Regions from separate parts of the Homo sapiens genome. Here all the other regions are linked to region 1. Evidence: promoter capture Hi-C in 16 types of primary human blood cells and fetal thymus (Javierre and others, 2016). All regions are on one chromosome and are shown on one strand. Each heading gives the region's core, a stretch centred on a gene start or on the middle of the fragment in contact. The rest is flanking DNA. Distances are from core to core; before and after follow the strand shown.

Region 1 (3,686 bases), core at 1,187-3,686:
TGACAGGCTTTACTGGACACATTGGGCCAGGGAAAGTGTCACAATACTTAGTCCATATCCTCCTGCCGCCTTTCAAGTTTCTTCTCTCTTTTACCCACTCCTTCTCTGAGTGCCAAAACTCCAATTTTAGTACTTCTATGCAAACCAATTTCACCACCCAGGTGAATTAGCTTGCACTCCCCAAATTTTGTTACTGGACTCTTTCCTTTGTAAGGGATAAGAATTTAGCCCAAGCCAGCTTAGGGCAAAAGGAAACTTTTGGCTGGGAGTGGTGGCTCACACCTGGAATCCCAGCACTTTGGGAGGCCAAGGCGGGCGGATCACAAGGTCAAGAGATTGAGACCATCCTGGCCAACATGGTAAAACCCCATCTCTACTAAAAATACAAAAATTAGCCGGGCGTGGTGGCGCACATTGGTAGTCCCGGCTACTTGGGAGGCTGAGGCAGGAGAATCGCTTGAACCTGGGAGGTGGAGGTTGCAGTGAACCGAGATGGTGCCACTGCACTCCAGCCTGGCAACAGAGTGAGACTCTGTCTTAAAAAAAAAAAAAAAAAAAAATTTGGCTCACAGAATCAAAGGACAGACTTAATCAAACTGCAGGAAGAGAGGGATTTAACTGGAACCAGGGAATTAACCCTGCTTCTCTCATTGCCTACTGGCAACAAGTCCCAATTCTTATCTTTTAGCGTTCACGCACTGGAAAGATGCAGTCTTAAATTTCTTATGGTTCAAAGCTCAAAAATGCTGGTAAGGCTGGGTGCAGTGGCTCACACCTGTAATCCCAGCACTCTGGAAGGCCGAGGTGGGCAGATCACCTGAGGTTAGGAGTTCGAGACCAGCCTGGCCAACATGGTGAAACCCTGTCTCAACTAAAAACACAAAAATCAGCGGGGTGTCATGGCAGGCGCCTCTAATCCCAGCTACTCGGGAGGCTGAGGCAGGAGAATCGCTTGAACCCGGGAGGTGGAGGTTGCAGTGAGCCTGGATCTTGCCACTGCACTCCAGCCTGGATGACTGAGACTCCGTCTGAAAAAACAAAAACAAAACAATAAACCCTCCCAACCCGCCAAAATGCTGGTTAAGGATTCTAAATGGCTCAACTTGGCCAGCTGTCTATCCCTGAACTGCCTATGGTGTACATGTTCCTATAACAGCACCTCCCAGGGAAACCAGAGGGGCTGCTTCCAGGTAAAAGGAGGAATTTCACCATAGACATAATACTTTGGAATAGTTTTGGCTATCCTTAAGTAAAACACGGGATGACTATTTCTCTAATTTCCACACTAGTAGTTTAAACAAAGTAGTCATCAGACCACAGAGGAGGGGGCAATAAATACTGCCTGTGAGGTAACTCGGCGAAATACTTTCACAGAGGCCTCATGAGGTGAGCATTTAGCATCGTGTGTGATGTGTGTCAAACCAAGAGGGGATTCAGGGAGACTTCCAGGCTTGAGCAAACGGACAAATATACCTCCTCTTCCAGACCTCTCCTTTCATATGGAAAAAATTCGTTTGGGACCACCAGAAAACAAAAGATAAAAGTATCGTGTTAGAACAAGGATGGATTAAAAATGACCTTTGCTTGAACTGAAACAGAAGCTATGTGCATAAGTGACTTAACTCCTCTGTAACTTGGCTTTCTTATCATTTACACGAGGGTGCTAACAGTACCCTCACAAGGTTCAAGTGAAGATTACATAGGACAATCCCTTAGTCAATGTCTTGGTACACTGTAAAGGCTCAGTAAATGCTGGAAAATCATATTAGCAACTATTTTATACCCGTAATTGTAGCTGGAAGATTGTATTGGATGCTAAATACCGGCTAGATTCCATTCGGTAACTATCATAATTATTTATTTGCATAACAATCAAATTATTGGTGCAAAGCAGCCATTATTACTGTAAAATGCTTTAAAATGCTCCTTTTGATAGTCCAGGTACGTACTGCAGCACAAAACTAGGAGAAACCAGGAAATGGAAGTAACGAGTAAGTTTGGATGCTTCGATTCTACCCTAGATTGAGACGGGTGAGCATAGAGGCAAAAAAAGACATTTTCTTCCAAACAAGAGGTGACCAAACGGGCAAGGGAGACCTCCTCCCGGGCATGCAGAGCGCAGCGATTCTGTGCCCAGGGAGCCGGAGGGCTGGGGCTGGGAGATCCCGGCGGAGCCCCGGCAGAGCAGTCGCCCGTGAGCCCCCGCAACTCAGACGCGCTCGGCCTCGCGCTCCGGGGCTGGGACCACCGAGGGCGAGCTGCAGCCTTCGCCACCCGGTCCGCCGCCGGACTCCGCCTCCCACAAACAGCCCGGCAAGGCCCTTTTCCGCCGCTCCCTCATCCAGCGAAGCCTCCTTCCCAGCTTCCCCGGCGGCGGCGCCGTGACGTCACTTCCGTTCTCCAGCGCGCACGTGGGAGGAAGTGCTGGTGCCCTCTGCCGCTGCTCCCGTCTCTTTGGTTACGCTCGTCAGCCGGTCGGCCGCCGCCTCCAGCCGTGTGCCGCTATGGGAGTCCCGGCGTTCTTCCGCTGGCTCAGCCGCAAGTACCCGTCCATCATAGTCAACTGCGTGGAAGAGAAGGTGAGGAGGCGCCAGGCGGCCGCCACACTCGAGCCCGGGCCCCCGGCACGTCTAGGCCGCGGCCCATGGGCTCCGCCGCCTGCCCCCGGGGAGCCTTGCCGGAGCTCGCGCCCTGCTGCCAGCCTCGCGAGCAGTCGCAGCCCCACACGCGATGGGACGCGGGCTGTGGGATTCAGCACCCCGGGGGCGAGGAATTCAGGACCCTCGGCGGGGCAAGGGCCTATAGGGTTCCGAACTCGCAGGAGGGTCGCTCCTCCCCTACTCGCTTTTTCCCGGCACCGGAAGGCCCCGCCCACTGCTTTGTTTCCTCTCCAGACCGCGCATTTTGGGTCTCGGAAGAGGTTCAGAGGCTGTTGTTGAGCAATGCATGCCAGGTCAGCTGAGCTAGCGGGTTATGGATGCACGGATTCGGAGGCCAGCTTTTTGACAACCTTGTAAAGGAATCCCTGGCGGCGACCTTTTCGTTGTTTACCAATTGTGCCGGAAAGGTTTTCTCCTAGTGTTCAGGACCATTTGTTGTTCTGGTTAGATTGGACGCTGAAAGCAGTATGTCAGGTCCAGGATGAGCGCTATAGAATTCTGAGAAGTTACCCTTCTCTGTGTGCCCTGACTACTGAACGGGGTGGGTGCTTGTTGAAAATTTCAAGATTACTGGATGTACTTGAGCAGTACAATTTTTGTTGTTAGTTAATACGTAAGTAGATTTTTGGCCATTATTGAGTTTTGTTTTTATTGTTTTCGTCATTCCATGCGGATTCGATTTTGTGCTCTTAATTAGAATTTCTGGATTGGAAACGTTCAGAGGCACATCACGCGTACCTCACTCCTTAGTTTTTGAAGGCAGTGCTTGCCTGTCACTGTGAACTTATTTCTGCTTTTTTTTTTTTTTTTAACTTTCTTGGCTTCTATCCAAGGAGGAACCAAAAGCCTTGTCTTAGTGACATTCCCACTATTTCTTGTTTTTTTCAAAAAGCAACTGCTAAATTGAATACTTGTTTCCTTTGTAAAATTTTAATCGAACTTTATTGAACTTTACTTGCACGTGGGTTAAACAAAAAGCAACAGTTCTTGCTCTACCCCTTCTCATCCCATTTCTCCACCTTTAAC
Region 2 (3,686 bases), core at 842-3,341, 610 kb before region 1:
AGGCCTGCAGATCACTTGAGCCCAGAGTTCAAGACCAGCCTAGGTAACATGGTGAAACCCCATCTCTACAAAAAATACAAAGGTTAGCGGGACATGGTGGCGTGTGCCTGTAGTCCCAACTACTTGGGAGGCTGAGATGAGAGGATGGCTTGAGCCTGGGATGTGGAGGTTGCAGTGAGCCATGATTGAGCCACTGCACTCCAGCCTGGGCAACAGAGCTAGACGTTGTCTCAAAAAAAATGAAAAAATTTCAAAAAAGATACCGTAACTTTAAAAAAAAAAAAGTGAGGGAGGAGGTTAAGGGAAGCATGCCTGGAAATCTATTTTGTTTTATTTTGCTGTAAAACAAAAAGAACACAGGAGAGATATGGTACAAGTCACAGAACTTAATAGTTATTAAATACAAAAGTACACCCAGAAGTTGGTTTGTTTAAAAAGTACACCAGAGCCAGTTTGCAGGTGGAATGACCTTCCTCCTAGACAGTTCAAAATGGTGGCATTTCTGTGAAATTAACTCAGTAAAGACTGAAGTGGCTTTCCCCAAGGAACCCTCTTTACCTCCAGGAAATCATCATATTATCCCAGCTTGTGAGCAGCCTCCAATATTGTCATCTCTGCTGTGTCCCTAACACAAGAAAACGAAGGCCCTTCTGGTCACTGGGCAGTCACTCACAGGCACACAATCTGCTAACAGCATGTGAAGGCCTGAAACTCATGACCTGAAGGATGGGTGATAGGGAATTTTGTTATAGGAGTCCAGTGGAACACACTACAGCCATTGAAGTCTTATGTAATTCTTCACTTACTGATGTGGAAAAATATCCAAGGCTTTAAGTCAAAAACACAGTGTTAGACCATGCAGATGACTATTCATGTAAAACCGTGTTTGTGTGTGTAAGCGAGGCAGGTGCAGGGAAGAGAGAGAGAAAGGAATGCACCCAAGCAAGAGCCAGCCTGGAAAGCACGTTCACCGGGATTTCAGTAATGCTTGGCAGGGGACTGCAGAATTTGAGAACCCCTTGATACCTAAATTATTTTTCATATATTCATATTATCCAAATGTTTATAATGAGTATGTAAAATTGTAGAACCAGAAAAAGCTATAAAGCTGTTTTGGGGGGTACTTCCAGGGCGTTCGAGAAAGGGATTTTTTTCAAAGCCTGAATATTTACTGCAAAAAACTCATCAATCATGACACCAGGCCATACTTTTTTCCAAACCTGTCTTACTTTTCAACTTTGAAGAAATCTTAAGACCCAAACAATATATAAAAGAGTATCTTTACCAATTCTAAAATGTTGTAAAAAACAGCAAATGACTTAAATTTTCTCTATCCAACTTTTAAATTACTCCTTCTGTAACAGCACATACATGGTACATAATGCCTTAGAATGACCTAGTTATCTGGAGAAGCTTTGCTGTTTTTGTGTTTCTCTAGACATCATTCACTGAAAAGGATAAAAAATAATAGAACTGGGCAGAAAGACATTTCTCTGTCCAGCCATTCAGCAGCTAGCACTGAGTAGGCATGAGCAAATGTTTGACACTTTTGAATGCAAAGATGTGATGAAATTTCCAGTCACAATGAGACCCATTCCCAAGACCTGGGAGCCTTAGTCCATATGAGTCAACCTTTCCTTGTTGTGCTTAAACCTGACGCTGACTGACTGTCAACTGACAGAACAGAAGCTTCTTCATAGCACACTATAAAAGTGCTAAAGACCTGGTTTATGCTCAGAAATGATGTCTCTGGAAGAATACAAATGATTGTCCTCCTGTATGTAGCTAACCTAATACTGTCATATTTTGAAACACCACAGCCACCTTTCTGAGTAAGACATAAGGTTCAGTTAGCAACACTGGTTCATAGAATTACATCTTTGCAATTAACACTGAGCCAAAGATTAAGATTCCCTCAGGTCTTTCCATTGAGAAAAGACCAACATAAAGCACAACTGGGGTCCTAATTTGGGTGGATATCTGATGTGGAGCCAATCTGCAGTGTTTGCTGCCTTTGCAACCATTCATATTAAATTGTTGTTGTACTGACCCATCAACATTTTTCTGGTCTCATTCTTCTCCAGCCACTGACAGATCTCCATTTTTTTTTTGTCAGCATCAAGGGCACTTTTTAATATGCCTGCTCTCTGCCTGTCAGTAGATTTGGGGATAACAGCAAGCCCGTCTCCATATTGTTACAAGCTCAGGCCGCTGTGTGGGCCCATTACATGGCCCAATGTACTCCAGCTTTCCTGTCCCACTGGCCACAAAGTGTTTCCGTCCTGTCTTCTCATCACTACTCGCTGCTGCAGTAAGGAGGGACACAGGCTGCCTGTCCCCATCTTCCTTAACACCTTTGCTTGCTACAGATTCCACAGCCACTCATTCCTCTTCTCTGGCACTTCTTTCTCTCTCTTCCCTCTTCTCTTGTCTGCCTCCAGTCACTGGTCGGTTTTTGGGCCAAAGATCTGACCTTTTATAAAGTAAGCCAAAGAAAGCTTTGTTACAAAGCTTGTGGTCAGAAAACCTATCTCTGGCAAGCTAACCAAGCAAGTGTAGTCTCTATGAGGGAACCACATTGATTCCTTTACACCTAAAGGTCAGTTCAGATCACTCCTCTGCTCTTTGCTTCACTGGAGTGCCCCATCTTATCTTACTTAGAGTAACATCCCAAGTCCTTACTGGGATGCCAAAGTTCCACACCATCTTATCCCTATTTCCCCTCTCCCACCCCCGCTCCTTTCCCAGTTCCTTCTATCCTCCACCCCTCCACCCCTATTGACTTCCATGAGATTTCCAGTCTATTTATGACTCAGATCCTGGTACTTACTGTTCCTTCTGCTTAGAACACTATTCCCCAAAAATAATCACAAAGCTGCTCCCTTGCTTAACCCAGGTCTCAGTCCAAACCTCCCTTCAGAGAGGCCTTCCCTCACCCCAATATCTAAATAAGCATACACATACCCTTATCAAGCTTAATTTTTCTATCATCATTACCTGAAATTGTATCATATATTTATTATTTGGTTTTTTTGTTCTTGATTTTTAGAGATGGGGTCTCACTGTGTTGGCCAGGTTGGTCTTGAACTCCTGGCCTCAAGCAATCCACCTGCCTGGGCCTCACAAAGTACTAGGATTACAGGCATGAGCCACTGCACCCAGCCTGTTATTTATTGTCCATCCACCCTAATAGAATGAAAGTCCCATAAGTGCTAGGGCTTCATCTGCAAATAGCAGACACTCAGTCACTATATGTGGAATGACTTTAAAAACAGTGGAAACAGTCTAAGCTATGTAGACTTAAAGAGTGGTCAATCCCATTTGTTAAAAGGGCAACGCTTTACTTCCATCAAACTAGAAAAATAATCCTCTCACTTGAGCCTGGGAGAGCAAGGCTGCAGTGAGCTGTGATCACACCACTGCACTCCAGCCTGGGTGACAGAGTGAGACCTCCATCTCAAAAAAAATTTTTTAATTAAAAAAATAGAAAAATAATCCTCAAATATGACTCCCATAATCTTAAATAGAATTTACAGAATGTCATCTAAGGTTTGCTCAATGTTTTATGATTATTAGCACAAAAGTCAATGAATGTCATGTGGTACAAATGGGCGTGGGCAGAGCTATAAGCAGTTCTGTTGTGGGAGGTAATGTGCCAGAATGCCTTTCCTCTACTTTCTCGGAAA
Region 3 (3,686 bases), core at 697-3,196, 590 kb before region 1:
CATGTGGGAATAAATGACAGTGTACAGTGAACATGTGATACTATCAAGCTTGGTAATGCCAGAAACAGGCATCTGTGCATATAAATTCATCGCACCCATCATATCTAGCCTTTACCCAGTAATGAAAATGTAGAACTCCAATTCTTCTCTTAAAAAGGAAGAAACATATAGTATTATTATGTTGGTACTTTTTCACCCACTTGCATATTCCATATGGCTCTTCTTATTTTCTGTTGTTCTTTCTAAACTCGTTCCTGCTGGGCTGTGAACTCTTTGAGGGCTTCACTTGCTTTGCACTGAATTCTTTATCCCTGGAGTTATAGAGTGCCGAGTGTTATGCAGACATTAAGTGTTGTTGAATAAATGTCCTACAGTAATCAGCAAATAAGAATAATGAGATCAAAAGTTTAAAACTTGCAATGCAAATTAAAACTACTCTGAAATATCATTTGAATTAGAAAAAACAAGCAAACAAAAAACCTCTACAGAGACAAGGTGTGATAACACACTCTAGTCTGGTGGCAGAGCTATAGAAAACATAGCTGGTAGAAATGTTAGATGCTACAACTCTTATGGAAGGAAATTTGGCAAAAATAAATATTTGCCTTTTGACCCAGAATTTCAATTTCTTTTTTTCTTTTTTCTTTTTCTTTTTTTTTTTTTTTTTTTTGAGATGAAGTCTGGCTCTGTCACCCAGGCTGGAGTGCAGTGGAGCTATCTCGCCAGGTCCAAACGATTCTCCTGCCTCAGCCTCCCGATTAGCCGGGATTACAGGCGTGCGCAACCACGACTGGCTAATTTTTTTGTATTTTTAGTGGAGAGGGGGTTTTGTCATGTTGGCCAGGCTGGTCTTGAACATCTGACCTCAGGTGATCCATGGGCTTTGGCCTCCCATGTTTTGTTGTTTTTTTTTTTTTTTGACAGTCTTGCTCTGTCCCCCAGGCTGGAGTGCAGTGGTGTGATTTCAGCTCACTGCAACTTCTGCCTATCAGGTTCAAGCGATTCTCCTGCCTCAGCCTCCTGAGTAGCTGGAATTACAGGCATGTGCCACCATGCCTGGCTAATTTTTGTATTTTTAGTAGAGACAGAGTTTCACCATGTTGGCCAGGCTGCTCTTGAACGCCTGACCTCAAGTGATCCACGGGCCTCAGCCTCCCAGAATGCTGGGATTACAGGTGTGAACCACCACACCCAGCCAGAATTTTGACTTCTAGGAATCTACCCTGCAGATATTCTAATATATAACACTGGAAGGATTTAAAAAAAAACCTTAACATTAATGCCTACCTAAGTGGGATAGAGGATGAGGTGGAAAGGACTCAGTGTCCTCTCTGAGTATATCTTTTTATATTTTTTTCATTTTTGAACCATGTAAATGTTTTCCATATTCAAAAATTGAAACAGAAAAAGACAAGCCTGAAAATAAAAAATAAATGGAAAAAATAAAACTAACAATATATGTAATTGGTAGGATAACTCTATGGAGAAATAAATATAAAACCATGCATGGAAGTTTATTCCTTTCACCACTATTTATAATAGCCAATGTAGTGGGTTGAACAGTGCCCACCCTTCCCCCCAAAAAGATATGTCTATGTCCTAATCCCTGAAAACTGTGACTGAGACTTTATTTGGCAGAAGGATCTTTGCAAATATAATAAGATCCTCAGTTATCTGGGTAGACCCTAAATCCAATGACAAATGTGCTTGTAAGAAACAAAAGAAGTGAAAACATAGAAACAAAGGAGAAGGGCACATGAAGACCAAGGTAGAGATTGAGGTTATGGAGCCACAAACGAAAAGACCCTTATAGCCAAGAGAAACTGGAAGAGGCAAGAAAGGATTCTCCCTTGGAGTCTTCCAGAGGAAGCCCAACACCTTGATTTCAGACTTCAGGATTCCAGAACCGTGAGAAAATAAATTTCTGTTGTTTTAAGCCACGCAATTTGTGGTAATCTGTTGCAGCCACTCTAGAAAACGAGTATGACCAGATACCAGAGAGAACCCTGTGATTGTCTAACAAGGTACTTATATACACATACATCTATAAGTGGCTAATTTAATCCAGTTCATCCACACAGTGTAGCACTATGGAGTACTATGCAGCTGTTTAAAAATAATGGGAAAATTTCGCGTGTACTGACTTGACATAATTTTCCAGATACGTTGTTAAATATAAAAGGAACAGAATATTAAAAATTTTTTTTTCAAAAAGAAACACTGGAAGGATAAATAAAAAGCTAACATCAATTCCTACCTAAGTGGGATGGAGGATGAGGTGGAAAGGAATGAAACAGGGTCCTCTCTGAGTATACCTTTTTATATTTTTTTCACTTTTGAACCATATAAATGTTTTACATATTCAAAAATTAAAATAGAAAAAGACAAACCTGAAAATCAAAAATAAATGAAAAAATAAACCCAACCGTATATGTAATTGGTAGCATAACTATATAGAGAAAATAATTATTTCAAGTGATTTTTGAAAACAGTATTCTGATTGTACCTCCTTAGAGGGATGTATTCTAAGGGCAAAAAGATCTGCAAAGAATTAATAATTATTATTAAGAACCAAGATTTTCAGTGTAAGAGAAAGGAGATACAAAAATATCACATCAAAGAAAATGTGAAAACTCTGTAATACTAGATTTTACTTCAAATATCCATTTGAACTCATAATTTAAAAATACAGCATGTGTTGGCCAGGCGTGGTGGCTCACGCCTGTAATCCCAGCACTTTGGAAGGCCAAGGCAGGTGGCTGAGACTATCCTGGGCAAGATGGTGAAACCCTGTCTTTACTACAAATGCAAAAATTAGCTGGGCGTGGTGATGCATGCCTGTAATCTCAGCTACTGGGGAGACTGAGGCAGGAGAATCGTTTGAACCAGGGAGTTGGAGGTTGCAGTAAGCCGAGATGGCACCACTGCACTCAGTCTGGTGACAAAGCGAGACTCCATCTCAAAAAAAAAAAAAAAAAAAACTAAACAAAAACAAACAAACAAATGTCATACATGAATGAAATGAATGAATAAAAAGAAGGCCATACATTCTTTTCTATTTGCTGGACGCAGTGGCCCACACCTGTAACCCCAGCACTTTGGGAGGCCGAGGCAGACGGATCACTTGAGGTCAGGAGTTCGAGATCAGCCTGGCCAACATGGTGAAACCCTGTCTCTACTAAAAATACAAAAGTTAGCTGGGTGTGGTGGCAGGCACCTGTAATCCCAGCTACTTGGGAGGCTGAGGCTGGATTGCTTGAACTGAGAGTCAGAGGTTGCAGTGAGCCAAGAACACGCCAGGGCACTCCAGCCTGGGCCACAGAGCAAGACTTCATCTAAAAAAAAAAAAAAGAAAAGAAAAAGAAAAAAAACAGATATGCAGTTGTCCAACAATATTTATAAAAAGACTTTTTTTTTTTTTTTTGAGATGGAGTCTTGCTCTGTAGCCCAGGCTGGAGTGCAGTGGCACATCTCGGCTCACTGCAAGCTCCTCCTCCTGGGTTCATGCCATTCTCCTGCCTCAGCCTCCCAAGTAGCTGGGACTACAGGCGCCGGCCACCATGCCCGGCTAATTTTTGTTTTTTTAGTAGAGACGGAGTTTCACTGTGTTAGCCAGGATGGTCTCGATCTCCTGACCTCGTGATCCATCCGCCTTGGCCTCCCAAAGTGCTGGGATTATAGGCGTG

What was found. Contacts are between HindIII fragments. The CHiCAGO score rates a contact against its expected background, and 5 or more counts as called.
Region 2: a fragment that was not itself captured here is called in contact with the fragment with the promoter of XRN2 in region 1 in 1 of 17 cell types (activated CD4 T cells); the score reaches 7.2 in activated CD4 T cells.
Region 3: a fragment that was not itself captured here is called in contact with the fragment with the promoter of XRN2 in region 1 in 2 of 17 cell types (activated CD4 T cells and naive CD8 T cells); the score reaches 6.4 in activated CD4 T cells.

What each region holds. Positions count from the first base shown.
Region 1 is chr20:21,300,895-21,304,580 of GRCh38, forward strand. XRN2 (5'-3' exoribonuclease 2) reads left to right here and starts at 2,437. Exons shown (of 30, transcript NM_012255.5): 1 at 2,437-2,579. The coding sequence starts at 2,505. RefSeq lists a silencer at 2,135-2,264 and an enhancer at 2,985-3,034. The HindIII fragment of the contact is 6,284 bases long and covers 1-3,686 here.
Region 2 is chr20:20,693,872-20,697,557 of GRCh38, forward strand. All of the region lies in intron 1 of RALGAPA2 (Ral GTPase activating protein catalytic subunit alpha 2), which reads right to left. Among named protein-coding and RNA genes, the nearest start is that of RALGAPA2, 17 kb to the right of the region's middle. The HindIII fragment of the contact is 809 bases long and covers 1,688-2,496 here.
Region 3 is chr20:20,714,521-20,718,206 of GRCh38, forward strand. No RefSeq gene overlaps it. Among named protein-coding and RNA genes, the nearest start is that of RALGAPA2, 3.7 kb to the left of the region's middle. The HindIII fragment of the contact is 3,801 bases long and covers 47-3,686 here.